2 separate regions of the Homo sapiens genome follow, and region 2 is linked to region 1. Evidence: promoter capture Hi-C in human tissues and cell types (Jung and others, 2019). All regions are on one chromosome and are shown on one strand. Each heading gives the region's core, a stretch centred on a gene start or on the middle of the fragment in contact. The rest is flanking DNA. Distances are from core to core; before and after follow the strand shown.

What was found. Contacts are between HindIII fragments. The study calls those that stand out against the background at their distance.
Region 2: a contact is called between a fragment that was not itself captured here and the fragment with the promoter of TMEM74 in region 1, in 2 of the 25 tissues and cell types used here (mesendoderm cells and small bowel).

The regions. Positions count from the first base shown.
Region 1 is chr8:108,784,630-108,792,266 of GRCh38, forward strand. TMEM74 (transmembrane protein 74) reads right to left here and starts at 2,965. Exons shown (of 2, transcript NM_153015.3): 1 at 2,847-2,965; 2 at 1-508. The coding sequence starts at 469. RefSeq lists silencers at 2,191-2,485, 2,901-3,080. The HindIII fragment of the contact is 13,104 bases long and covers 1-7,637 here.
Region 2 is chr8:109,161,873-109,169,509 of GRCh38, forward strand. No RefSeq gene overlaps it. Among named protein-coding and RNA genes, the nearest start is that of TRHR, 79 kb to the left of the region's middle. The HindIII fragment of the contact is 4,524 bases long and covers 849-5,372 here.

The DNA.
Region 1 (7,637 bases), core at 1,715-4,214:
ATATCAAAGATATGGCAGCCTCTTGGGACCACTCATTTGGATTTTCCCAGCCAAGCTCCCCAGGGTGATTATGCCCTTTTGCTGATGGCGAGCTCCGGTTCCGCTGCTCCAAGTTGATGTTTTTGTCCACATAGGTAAAAGAAGTTTCTAATTCCTGGCTGCAGCAGTTACAGACTTTCCGTTCCGCTGTTATTTGGTTGTTCCCTGAGTGGAGAAGTCCTGGTGGAAAGGCATCTGGCTGAAGAGTACTGTTTTGCAGAGAGGAGGAGGGGGATGCTGGAGAAGAACTAAGTTTAGACCCTTCCATCTCGGTTGCTCTTGGGGTGGATGCACACTGTTTCTGACAGCAGAGAGCAGCTCTTGTGGCTGCTGTATCTGCCTGGTCACCAGGCAGCCCTCTTGAACTCCAGTCCCTGGCATCACAGAGGTCTGCCTGGTTGCTCTTCTTAGCAAGGTAGTGGAGCTCCATGAGAGCTAGTCAGACATCCCCCAGCAGCTTCCGGAAAGTCTGCCAATAGCAACAGAGTTAGATAAGAACCCAACAGAAGCTAAGGTTGTACTTCCAGGAGTGTTGCTCCTGGGGTCCCCATTTCCTTCACAGCTGCACCTGTTTAGCCCCTTTTCCACCTCAAACAGGCAAAAGAAGGGAGGGGATACCTAGTGGCAGGAAAGTGTGGAAGGGACAAATGCTCTCACTTGTCATAGTGATTAACACTGAGAAACTTAAGTCAGGGTAGAAAGGTGCGTGGAGGAAGTGGCAGTGTCTACTGAGAAAGAATACTGCCGTCACCAAGCCAAATTTATTCAAGGACTCGCGCATTCCTGCAAAAGGATCCCTCAAACGAGAAGGCAAGTTTCCTGTAAAAAGACAAATGAGAAAGGCAAGAGCCCTTTTTAGCAGAGCTGCCGATTTTCTGGAGGACTTGGGGAAGCATAGACTTGTTAATTCAGTAAGATTGTAAGTGTTTACACTCTCCCTAGTTCAGAGCAAATTCTAATACAGATTAGCTTTGGAGCATCACCATCAGTGAATGACTATACACCCCTATCAGCTGGGCAGGAACTCAGCATTTTGATTCCATAGCTCTGAAGTAGATGAAAAAGGCCAGCTTAATCAGCCACCTCTGCTAAGCTTACACCTCATACATCCAATGACCCTAGTGACACAGCCCTGTATTTACAAGACCATATGCTGCTTATTCACTGTGCTTCCACTTAGCCCTATTCCCTCACTGCTCCATGGGGGAAGCATGTTCTGGACCCCAAAGCATACAGGCAACAGACCTTACGGCAATCCCTGCAAAATACAATGGGCCAACCCACTCCTCCACACACACACCTGCCTGCTCCAGCTGCAGGATCTGCTACTCCCGTTCCCTGGGTCTGTGTTCCTCCCTCTCTGCATGCTTTGCTATCACACAATGCACAAGAAATTGACCATCTGGATAGTTTTACAAACCCAATCTAGAAGTGAACTGATAATAAAAGACAAACTATAAACCCACAGAGTAAGAGTTCTGTGGAGACAAATAGGTGAGAAGCTATTTCCAAGGTTACCTCTGTAATTTTATAAACATGTCACTCCTCACCCCCGACTGCAGCAAGGGGCATTTCTGGGAGAGAACTTTGGTTTGAGCAGAAAACCATCGGCTTTTCTCTGCCTCTGCCATGTTTCTAAGGAATAAAAATTCACTTTCCACTATCATTAGAGATTTTAACCAAAGGCTCCTTTTATTTTGCTTCCAAATCCAGGGTGATAATTGATTTAACCCAACGGCTTGAGGCTTCTTATAATTCAAAATCCACAGCTCCAAAGCTGGTAACAGAAACACAGGCAAGGGTCACCTAAGGTCAACCTGGCAACTCAAAATATGGGAGAGGGAATTGACATGTTTTCTGCTACACCTAAGAGTTTGTTTAAAACAAAACAAAAAAAGCAAAACAGAAAACGTTTTTCTCCTGTTATCGGAGTTTCTCTACAGTGAAAACAGCAAAAAACAACAGGGCAAAAGAATCACTACTAAACTAGAACAAACCCCCACTAAAGGATCCCTCAATGAATGAAGTGATGGTAACAGGCTTCATCAATTACCGATAACTCTTCTTCCAGTTTTCTCAGGCATTAGGGGCTCTGATTAACCTTTGGTACCATTAACTCATCACACTAGCCTACCTTGGATAAAATCAGCAGGGTTCTTTGAGACTTTCAGTTTATAACAAAAGAAGAGAGAAATCCCCACTTAATTCCCTACGGCCGCCTCTACCTCTCTTTAAAGAAAAGCTACTCCCGCTTGTTCGCTTGTTCTACCGGAGGTATGCTAGCAGCACAGTCGATTTCCTTTGCAGCTCCCTAATCCGGGGTTTCCATTCTCAGTGGAGAATGGATAATCCCAGGGGACCAGCTAAAGACTCTTTTCTTCCGTCCTCTCCCTCTTTTTCCTCTGATCTGCTTAAAAGCCCAGTTAACGACATTGCACCTTAAAGCGAGGGGACACGCACTTTCCCTCGTCCATCTGTCATCAATTAAAAGCATTAATATTTGCTTTAAACTGACACAGGCAAGGCTGATCTCGGGGAGGCGACCTCTGGATGCGCCCTGTGCGAGCAAAGCCGGGAGAGCGAGCCCCAAGCACCTGGCAGCGGTGCCCCCAGCAGGCGCCGAGGAATCCGGCTATCCATTTCTGGTGAACTCTGCGCCCACTGAGGCATTCGAGGTACGGATGTGTCCGCCTAGTACTCGGAGACGAAGGAGAGAGAGCGGGGATATGCGCTCCAGCTCTGCTAGGCTCCAGGGCTCTCACCCTTGCATTCAAAGCCTCCACCCCATCCCACTCCCCGCCACTCACCTTCTGCTTCGGCCACCCGGTGCGGCTCCAGCACCGCGCGCTCTCCCGGCACGGTTCCCGGAGAAAGTCCCCCAATCACCAGCTACGGCACTTGTAGCCTCTGCACGCCGCTCGGCTCCGCCGGGTGGGCAGCGCCCGCCACGGCGGGCGGGGTGGGGCGGGGCGGGGCGCTCCCGGAGCATCCCGGGAGTTGTAGGCCAGGGGCGGTCCCTGCATCCCTCCTGTCTCTGTCTCCTCCCACGCCTTCTGGGTTTTACCCTTCCTGCAGATGAGTTCCCGCCATACCCTCTTACTCCTCCCCAGCACTTAAGAAGACAGCACTGTTTTCTAAGCCTAGAGTGGAGTTCCCTAGCCTCAGGTGTGGCCACAAGACTGTGAAAAGGAAAGTATATTCGACTTCAAATGTGCCAGATAATTTGCATATTTTGTCTTTTTAATAGTCAAAACAAATCTTCCAAGTAGATTTTATTAATCCTCATTTTACAGATGTGGAAACAGGCTCAGAGAGGGTAAGTGCCTCATCCACAGTTACCAACAGCAGCTTCTGAAATTGCATCCAGGAGTCAGATTCGAAAGTCATTGCGTGTCTCACAAAATCAGAAGAAATATGACCATAAGGGGTAAGAGATTGTCCGATGTACCAACACATCCCCTGTATTTAGCACAGTGGTATTCGTTGAATGTATGAATAATAATGACTCAAAATAACAGTTAACATAAATAGCGCTTATTATTGCCAGGCTCTCTTCTAAGCACTATAGATACATTATCTCATTTAATGGTCACAATTTATTGTTAAAGTACTGTAAAAAAAAATCCTCATTTTAACAGAAGGCAAAACTGAGTTACAAAGTAGAATAATTTGCCCAATGTCACACAACTAATACTTAGCAGAGGTGGGGGGGGGGGGATGAACACCAACAGATTCTAAGCGTTATGCTATATGGAATGAATGGAAGAAAGACCAGAAGGCCAGAATAAAAGGGCTCAGGAATAAAGGAAATCTGAAGGTTGAATCTTCTGAGTTGTGACTCTTAGGATAGGACAAGGTAACTGTGTCACCAGCCTCTTTCAACCAGAGTGGACTGCAATAGCCAACAGCCACTGAAAGCCCAGGGTATGTGTAGCTTGCAGATAATCTCCAGTTTTCCAGCATCCTGTTGGGACAATTCTAGGGGAGCAAAAAAGGATTATAGTATGGATGGGCTGGGCACGATGGCTCACGCCAGTAATGCCAGCAATTTGGGAGGCCGAGGCGGGCAGATCACGAGGTCAGAAAATCGAGACCATCCTGGCCAACATGGTGAAACCCCGTCTCTACTAAAATAGAAAAAATTAGCCGGGCGTGGTGGCGCGTGCCTGTACTCCCAGCTACTCAGGAGGCTGAGGCAGGGGAATCGCTTGAAGCCGGAGGCGGAGGTTGCAGTGAGCAGAGATCGTGCCACTGCACCACTCCAGCCTGGCGACAAAGCAAGACTCCGTCTCAAAAAAAAAAAAAAGAAAAAAAGAAAAAAGGGATTAGGGATTATAGTATGTATTATGACATTGTGCTTGTAGCTCACATAAATACTGTGGTTGCTTGCTTTCAAAAGAGAGATCTATCTCCTTTAATGACAATTATGTTGGTATTTCATTACATTGGATAGAATCTATAGTCACATGATTACAGGAGTTCACAATGCTCCCTCTTTAAAATTCTTTTTCCCCCATATGATTATATTTGTAGCCAGTGAGGCCCATTTGTTGATAAACATGACAGATGTATTATGACTTCTCCTTTGCTTACTACACGGTTCTCCAGCATGAATATCTTTCCTCCACTGCCCTATTCCATCCACACTTCAAGGACTAGTTTGTCAAGCCAAATCTACAGGGATGCATCCAGTTCTTAGTACTACATATGCAAAAAGAAATAAAGAGAGAAACTAAGATGTAGAAGGAACTTGAATTTATGTTGACGAGGAAAAACTTAGGAACTTAGGCTATTTAGCCATAGGAGAATACTGAGAGGAAACAATAAACTAGCTTCAAATATTCTGAAGTTTCTAAAAATAGAAGAAGAATTCTATAGTATATTTAAAAGGGTAAAAGCAGAACAAATAACAATAATACTTTTTTGTTAGTGCTATTATGTTATCATCTTTAATTTTTACACCAACTTCACAAGGGAGGCAGTATTATTGCACCCATTTTGCAATGTAGAAATTGAGGCTTGAAAAGATGTAGTTTCTTTTCCAAGGCCTGAAAACTAATATCGGGCAGAGCTAAGGTTCTAACTTGGGTCTGTGTGATTCCAGAGACTTGATCTCTTTGCCAACACATTATACTGAGCAATGCTTCACAATCTTTTTTACAGCAGAGTACACATAAGAGGTGATACTATTTATGGCAATGTGATAAACACAGGAGGTTTCTCATGGCCATAGTTCTGGGGCTGTGGGTACTTCAGTCTCTGCAGGACAGCTTGGAGGGCTAAGGAAATAAATAAGTCAGCACACCTGTGACACACTGGAGTGCTGGAGGATGCCAAAGCACTGATCTGAGAAGCTCTGGATAGCACTATTAAATTTAAGAAGGAGGCTGATTTGAGACTTTGTATAAGGAAGGACATTATTTCTAAAACTTTTAAATTGATGTCTCATGAAAGCAAATTCTCTGGTACTGGTGAGGATTAAAAAAAAAAAGGAGAGCCATTTATTAGTGATTTCATAGAAGGGATTCATCTAGTTGGATTAGAGGACCTCTGTGATTCCCAGGCTGAACTGATTTTAAGTTACTTTTTTTTTTTCCCTGAAGCCTTTTTCTTCCAAGGATTACACCTCCTGTGAACTTTGCTGGGACTTGTCAGTACTGGTGTTTTTGATATTTATCATCCACTGCTTTACGACATTTCTGGAATGGCTAGGTAGCCACTGCATGTGGTTTAACTTCTCACTTAGGTGCCTAAATCTCTAAGGTAATCAATCATAAACTCCTTAAGGTCAGCATCTACATGCTGAACACCTTACCTCCTGCAGAAAGTGCAGTATTTCTGTTGAGAGGGAAGATGTCAAGACTGAACTGAAGACTCGAGATGATTACCTATAATAATACTTGACTGTCTACATATTCTTGAGCATTAAAAATATATCAATTCCAACCAACACCACAAAATCCCCTTTAAAAGTCTGCTGACAAAAAATAGAGATGAACCAATTGAGCACTTGAAAATAAAAGCTCTGCAAAAATTGCCACTTGCTGGAATACTTTCCCCCTCTCTCATAAGTCTATGTCTAAAACTTTCCTGAAAATTGACCCAAGAACCTTTTTCAAAAGCCTTTCTTGTTCAACGTCCTCAACTTATCGTTACCTTTCTAACTGGCTTTCTAGTAGCATAATATGCTTTCTTTTATGCTGTTATTTTAGATATAGAAAAGTATTTCATGTATATTTTATAGTGCTTTCTATGTGATCTCTCCAGATAAAATTTAAGCTCCTTGAGAACCAACATATTCTTTCTATTTCTTTGAAGCTATATGTGGGCATGAAATAGTGCGACACATAGGCAACAGTAGTTCCTCAATATATGCTGATAAAACAATTCACAGTTGTAAAATGTTATCTAGAAATCTACATAATGATTTTGGTCTTACTCTAATTTTAATGTCTCACATTTTCCTGTTTACTTATACTCCGTTTCATGTGAGAGGAGCAATCGTTACTACACTAAGTTAACTAGTTGAAAAATAAGAAAAATTCTGAGAAGTAAATTTACCATGTAAATCAAGGGTAGTGCTGGGACTTTTAACAACCAGCCTCTTGTAATAATTACTGAGGATGTGTTCCAGTTTCTTTTTCTTCAGTAATAATAATAAGGGCTGATTAGTGGACTATTAAGGGATTATTAGTGGAGTTATTATTATGAGAGGCTGGGTCCTAGAGAAGTAAGAAAGACATTTTTGGAATAGGCTGGAGGGAGGATCAGTCATTGAATAGGGATAGCATGAGGAATATGGTCCTATACCCCATACTGGTGCTAAGAATGAAGGTGACCATAATTTAGAGAATGAAGATCTTGTTAATGAACAAGATTCTAGGAACAAAAAAAAGCATTAAATTAGAAAGGTTTCCATTTAATAAGAATGCTTACAGTGGCCAAGTAGGCATGTTACTTAAATAAAGTGGCTGAATACAGACAATAGGGATGGGGAAGATTACCGAAGTTAAGAGCAAGTGCCTTTCCCAAAAGGGGCAGTATCCCCTAACTGTTCTACCTGAGTTTTGTCTTAAGTGAATTTAGACATTAATGAAAGTCAGATATCACAATTTGTTATTCAAAATTCAATGTATTTTAAACCCTTAATGAGTCAGAGAAAAAAAAAATTATTGGGAACATTTGTTTCCCGTAGTAATAGACTAGGTAATTTAGACCTACTCACTGCATTTGGCTTTGAAGAAATGTATTTATATTTGAAACATTTAGAGAACCCAAAATTATTGCATCCAAGGAGCAAAGATTTTTTTTTTCTATCTTTTGGGGAGGGGTGGAAAAGATAGTTTTCTCTTGCTTCTGTATGTAAACACACTAAATTATTTTTTTCTCTTGTTTCTCATCTGTGATACAGACTTCAAAGTTTGTACGCCTAGGACATCTGACCTGGCTTTCACTGTGTTGTGCCAAGGGTAAGAATTGGGATCCAGAGGACCGCATGGTCATTATTTGCTCTTAAGTAAATCATCTGTTTCTGATCCAACACCATGTGTACCTTCAGGATAAAATTAATAAATATGAATATTAAAAACACAACAATA
Region 2 (7,637 bases), core at 1,861-4,360, 380 kb after region 1:
ATATCACTGAAGCTTCATTTAGGTCCTCATGTGTTCTAATACACATCCTAGTATGGGAAGAACAGAACTGGGTGACTTTGTTGACATGCTCAGACTTCTCCATGTTTCACTTGAGTGTTGTGATTTCCCATATGCCCAGAATTTGACAATTCAACCTTCCATGTTATCTCAGAAATGACCAGCTATGACTTGAGAAGTAAGTAGAAGTTAGCCAGATAAAATCATAGAAAGGAGTGGGGACGGAGATGGGCAAAGAGTGAAAGAAAACTGAGTTTATAGCAGAGTAAACATCTGTGAAGGAGCACATTTAGGAAAGGTGAACAAGGTTTAGCTAGAGCAAAGAGTGAAAGCTGCAGCAAGCAGAAGCCAACTAGCAGAAGGCCTGTGGGCCATGGAAGGGGTTTGTAATTCATTCCCAAGCAATGCGACCCAATTGAAGTGGTTTAAAAACATAAATTATAGGATATGGCTTGATTTTAGGAAGAGTACTCCATCTATAGTTTAGAGAATGCATTAGAGAAAGGCAAGAAGTCAAGATAGGAAGCTATTAAAAGAATAATATTGTATCTAGACTAAGTACTGCAATTGAAAGATGAATATTTTCATTCCAAAGAGTTTATCTAACATAAATGCATACAATGTATGCCAAAGGAAATGGACAAGAGTTATTTTAGAAGTATTATTTACAATAGCCAAAAACTGGAAACAACCTAAATATTCATCAACAATAAAATGGATAAATACATTGTGGAAAATCATACAATGCAATATACAGCAATGAAAATGAACAAACTGCTGCTACACAACAACAATAGGAATGCTTCTCACAAATGTAATATTGAGCTAAACAGGTCAAACACAATGCATCCTCTATGATTTTATTTACATACAATTCAAAAGCAGGTAAAATTAATCCATAGTATTAGAAACTGGGGCTGGGCGCAGTGGCTCACACCTGTAATCCCAGCACTTTGGGAGGCCAAGACGGGCAGATCATGTGGTCAGGAGATCGAGACCATCCTGGCTAACAGGGTGAAACCCCACCTCTACTAAAAATACAAAAAATTAGCCAGGCGTGGTGGCGGGCACCTGTAGTTCCAGCTACTCAGGAGGCTGAGGTAGGAGAATGGCATGAACCGGGGAGGTGGAGCTTGCAGTGAGCCGAGATTGCACCACTGCACTCCAGCCTGGGCGAAAGAGAGAGACTCTCTCTCAAAAATAAAAAATAAGAAAAAAAAAAAAAAAGAAATTGGACCAGTGGTCCTTTTGAAGGTTGAGTGGTATCTGAGGAAGGAGTGGGGCTAAGGGATTCCTAGGGCACTGGTAAAATTCTGTTTCTTGATGTGGGTGATGGTATCACTAGTATTCACTTTGCAGTAAGCCAATAAGCTGTATGCTTATTATTTTTTTTTTGCACACCTCTGTGTATATTTCAATATCAAAGTTAGTTAAAACAAAAGCAAAACAAAAACATAGACCATTAAGCTAAGATTTATTGTTCTAGAAGAGAGAATATAAAGAATCCAGTAAGAAAAGAGTGTCAAATTTTGGGATTTTTGTTCCAAAATGTCTTGAAAGTAGTGACTTTCCAGTGCAAGAACCAGGCATTTGAAAGACATAATAGTTTTATGCTACTTGGTTTTTCTGTGGGAAGTTTCTGGTGGACTTAGGGGGAATTCAAAAAGCTTGGCTTTATTGATTAAAGGCAAAGATTGGAAAACTCAAAACATACAGCAGAGAAGAATGAGTGATGGCACAAGAATATCTTTCTTAACACCCAGATAGGTGGTTAAAACCCATTATGGGCTATGGAGAAAGAGGACAAGAACTTAAAAAGAAAAGCAAAAGAGAGATATGAATGTGGAGCACCTGAGAAAACTTCTGCCACACTTTCCTACTCTATTTTAATCCCAGGTGGCAGATCAGTTTAGAGGGATCCTAGGGTGGAGAGGATATAGCCTTTCTTTCCAAAGTTTAGCCCAAAGAGAATGCATATCTCTAAGAGAAGCCTTGCATTCAAACAACACCAGAGAGTGGATGAGCAATGGGTGTGGACCTGATACGTTCCCTCCAAGTCTCCTTCAGATCTAAAGCTACATGGGAGACCTCGCTCAGGTCTCCAAGAGAGGCAGAGAAATTAACAGTAGGCCAAAAGAAAGCTCATGCCTGAGGTAAGGCTAATACATACCATGGTATCCAGCTAACTAAAGGCTGTGGTAGAAATGACACTGTCAGCAGATGCAGCAGTACGAGATGCGAAGCCTCAGGACCTGCTAGCACAAGGCACCCATCAGTACAGACAAGCAAGGTCAGAAGATGATCTTGGATCTTCATGTCACCCACTTCATGATGTTACATAGGGCAGAATCTCCCCTAATTCCAGACACCTCTCAAGGAGATAAGGGGAAGAAAGGGGAGGAGGGAGGCTACAGAGCCTGAGCTCTAAACTGGCAGTGACTGAGTTTCCTTAGCTTAGCAAAATGATGTTTTTCACCACCAAGCAGAAATGAGGAATAAAGTTTCGTGTTTGCACCTGAGTCTGTGACTATAAACAGTTTAACTGCTACACATAAAAAAGATTTACAAGCAGTTTGGAGGCTCAATTGTTATTTCCATCACATCCGAAAAGATGCTCTTTCCAGGGCATGGAGAAAGAATTGAAGGAAAAAAGTGTTTGAGATGGATAAAGCAGTATTAATTACCCAACCTCACAGGATAACTGTAAGGATTAAGGAACATGATAAAAGCAGCTGTCACCAAGTCAGAATCAGTAGATACTAATCCCTTCTCTCATGGAATGAAAGGGTTGAAAGAGACCTCCAGGGGCCTTCTGCTGCAACCACCTTGTCCTTATGAAGGAAAATTAAAAACATCTAAGGCAAATTGTTGTCTTACCTAGTTTTACAGATTTCAGGCATGAACATCCTACGATCCATGCTAGTATTTATCACATGCATAGTTAACAGTATTTCCAATTCATTCCCAGCAATGTAAGCCATTTCTTCTCATTAAAACCTATGCGAAAAGAGAATAATTCACTAAATCTTTTTATATAATTTTTATTTTCCTGGAAAATAGTCATAAAATCATGATTTCATTTTCTTTTCATGTAAGGTAAATAATTTTAACTCATTTAACCTTTCCTCACTGTCATGTTTTTTAGGATGTCATTGTTTTTGAGACTTAGCACTAAAAACTTCTTTTGAAATGTGATGATCAAAACAGAGTAAGATGCTTTATTGACTAGGGAAATTACTACTCAATTTTAGCATTAGTTTTTGAAACAACATTCAAACATTGCTAATTGTAAGAAAGTTGATATTTTTAAGAGATAACTATGATTGGATCTGTCCTGAATGTCATATTTTTTAACAAGAGAGAAAATTGAGACAGGTAATGTTAATCAATTTTAAATTTATAGAATATGAATTAAAGGAAGGCAAAAATATACAGATTTATATATTTTGATAACTATTTTCCAGTAAAAGAAAAAGTATATAAAAATATTTAGCAAATTACTCTCTCTTTTAACATGAGTTTTAATGAGAAGAAATGGCTTAAACTGCTGGGATGAAATTGGGAAATATTGTTAACTACACATGTGATAAATGCTAGCATGGATTGTAGGATGTCCATGACTGAAATCTATAAAATTAAGTAAGACAACAATTTGCCCTAAGTGTTTTTAATTTTCCTTCATAAGGACAAGTAACTTACTCACATGCAAACTGCTAGTTAGGTAGAGCTGAGATTCTAATGCCATTTACTCTCACCCACTCCCCATCCCTGGACTAAGCCACCATTGCCTCTGACATTGTCCACTGTGGTATCCTCATAACTGCTCTAACCTACATACATTTATGCCTTCCTTTAATCCATTCTCTATACTTCAGCTAGAGATCTTTTCAAAAAGATGCCATCAATGCCTTGGTTAAAACCGTTCTATGATTTTTCAGTGCCCTAAGGATACACATGAAAATGCTTTGACATGCAGACAAGGTCCTGCATGGTCTGCCTCAAGCAGGCCTCAGCAGCCTGGCCTACCATGGACCCTCACTCTTTCTCCTCTCAAACTGTACTGGCCTTCTTCCATACTCTCAGTCTCATCAGGCTAGTATTTATATTAGACTAAACATGAGCTTATACTGATATCTCCAACTCTAATCCATTACCACATGAATCATTCTCCTCTTGTTTATCTATATCCCCCCATTCCAGTAGTGAGAAACCCACCATTTACATCCATTTGCTTTGTTTTTCAATTCTGATATACACATATAGTGATATCAAATTGTTACCTCATACTCCTGTGGGAAACAACTTTATCAGTTAGAGTACAGTGCTTATGTGCAGTTCTTTTTGCCTTTAGTCTTATAGATTCCACTCATTTCCAGTTAGGTTGGTGCTCTTTTCCCCAGTACCTTCAATGCAGTGGTTGTTTCACACATTTGTAATACAGTTAGATTCTGAATTCCATCCTGGGATCTGCTGACGTTTTAAATAATTTCTTTAAAATTTGCATATGTCAAGAATTATCAACATCATCATTTATATGTTCTTACCAGTTTGATTTCTGCTCCAGCTAAGCATATCTCTGCTATAACTCCCTAAATTTACCTTTCTTTCCAGATTGAAATATGGTACCCTGTGAACTCAGTTCTCTGATGGGTCCAAGAAAAGTCATTAATGTTCAGTTTGTTCAAATTTTTTCTTGTTTTAAAGACAGAAATGAAGATTTCCAAGATCTGTACATGTTGAAACTAAAAACACTGTATTCACTTTTTAATGTCCATCTTTCTCCTTAAATTCTATGTTCTGTGAGAATAAGATTATGTCAGTTTTGCTCACCATTGTATTCAATTACCTAGTTTGGGTTCAGGCATATAGTAAATACTCAATAAATATTGGTTAAATGAATGGAAAAATGAATAACTCAAGTCCAAATACAAGTCCAGTAAACTTTCATCTATGTCACATGTGCTTCCCTGGTCCTATGCCATTAGACAGTCTTTTTTATTAATTCATGTTGGTTACTTCATAGTGTCCCTTTCAGTCATACTTATAACTTCTCTATTAGTGACAATCTAAGTCTTCATTCCATGCCTTGTTAGTGAAGAAAATGTCACAACCTCTTTCTAGATCCTATTTTTATCATCATCATCGCCAAGAATTTTTTTCAGGCAATAACTATCTACTGGACTTACTGGGAACACTGGTGCTTTAACCTCATAATGATTTTAAATAAATAATATAAAACTAAGTTTTCCTCTACGCTGTATAGTTTGCCTCTCTCAATATGCCTCTGCTATTTCCTGATGTCCAAACTTCCTGACATAACAAGCTTTCTTTGAATGAGGAAATAAGCCAACCTTCAGGACTCTGCAGTTTGAGCAACTAATCAAAGCTTTAAACTATACAGATGCTGAGAGCAAAACATGTCTTCATGTGTGGTAGAATAATTATCTTGATTTGTTTGCCACCAATCAGTTGATATTTAAAACTCTATTTGTAAAGCCTATAAATACAAGAGCTATGAAGAGATTACTGAGCAAGGCAGGGAAACCAAAGATCTCTATAATTTTTCTTTTCTTCTAAATAGATTATTTACACATACATAAAGAAGTATGTTACTCAAACACTCTCTTAACTTTAATACACACTCCCTACCAAAGCTGGGTGTATTAACTTTTCTCAAGTAAACTATATAACCCTCTAAAGAGACTCATATGTTTCTTCTAGGAGTATATATTGATATAACCATTCTGGAGATTATGTATCCAAAGATTTCAATTTTAACACAGAAATACCTTTTCTAGAAAAAAACTTCCAAGGAAATAACTAACAGGGTATTAAAAGATCTAGCTATGTAGGTATTAATCACATATTTGTTTATAGTTATGAAAAAATTGAAAACAACTTATTCAACTGTACTAGATTGATTAAATTGTGATTCAATCATACAATGGAACATTCTACAGCCATTAAAAATTATGTTGTAGATGTACATTTATCAACATAGAAAGATGTTCTTAATGTGTGGTAGAGTTAAAATTAAATTACAAAACAGTTTACACTGTATAATTTCAAATATAGATGGATTTATTGACACAATAAAGGACAGATAAAAAGATGATTGATTGATAAATAGGTACTCCAAAAGTGTTCACAAGTTATTTCTAAATGAATGTATTTATCTCCTTCTTTCTTACTATATTTTCTTGTTTTCTATTATGTACATGTATTTTGTATTTTTTTAAAGAAGATGTACTCAAATATAGTCATTATCTTAGTACCATAATTTGGTTTGTTGCCATTTCCAGTTGGCATTGGTATCTTGGTATTGGTACACAATATTGCTAGAGACCTTGATTGTGAAGTCATGAACATTATCTTTCAAGGACAGATATAACTAAAAGTGGTTCTTTTGTTCTTTCTCTTTCAAAGATGAAGTTATACAAAGAAGGCAATAGAGCAGAGTTTGAATATCATACTGAGAAAGCAATGGCAAAATAACAATATTTCTGTGGCAGAAAAAAAAGCTAGATTTGGGATGGGTCAGGTATAGATGTAGTAGTCACACTGGCTATAATTTTAAGAGCATTCATTTTCAGATTCTTGACTTTCATATGCCCTTTTTCCCATCATCAGGTAGATTATCATCCCCACTTTCCCTTTCAAAATGACTCTTCTCCCATTTTACAGAAGAAAGACATCCCCATGACTCATCTGGAATCTAATTATGCCATTATCCCAGGGTATAAAAATATCTAGGGCATCAGCAAAAGGTAATTAATGTAATGTATGCAGGAAAGCCTCCTTTGTTGATATATCAAGACCCTGTCTTCCCTTTTTCTCTGTCTTATCCGTATTTCTAACAAAACTGAAGCATGTAACATTAGAAATGGGGTATACTGACGCTTGTGAAAATGTTTTAAAATTAGATATACAGTGGCAGCCTTCACCTTTTCCTTTCCTTAGACCCTTTTCAAAGAATGTCTTGCCCCCGAGGGAGAATTTGAGGAGAGAATATTGAAGAAAGCATTGTCAAGAAACATTAAAAGCTAAAAACTCCTTTTCTAAAATGAGCAATTTTTCAGATATTTATAATATTCATAATGAAAGACATGTTGTTGCAAAACACTACAGCTTAATGACACTAACTCTTCTTAAGAGTATATTTTCTGTTGGGAAATGTTTGTCACTGACATAGTATGCAGATGTATACTTAAATAAAACCAAAGTTTAGAAAACAATACTTACTCTTAAAGAAAAAAACAGAGCATATTTTCCAGGACTATTCAATTTTTTTCTACTTTTGTGGAAATTACATCTACAGATGAAGATTTTATGTGATTTCTTTTAGATTCAGTATGCATTATTAAACAAAGTCATTAAAGTGTAATATATCAAATCAGATCTTAAAATATTTATTATAATTATATACTAGTTCATTTTATAAAGTAGTTAATATCTTCTATTTTCTATTATATAGTATGCAATTATATGATAGCTGCCATATCAATTTAGCCATAAAACATTTTTCTTTCATAAAATACATAGAAAATATATTTTGTCAAAAAACTGATGATATTATGAATATTTATATAATATACTTGTTTAATAGTTCCCAAAATCTG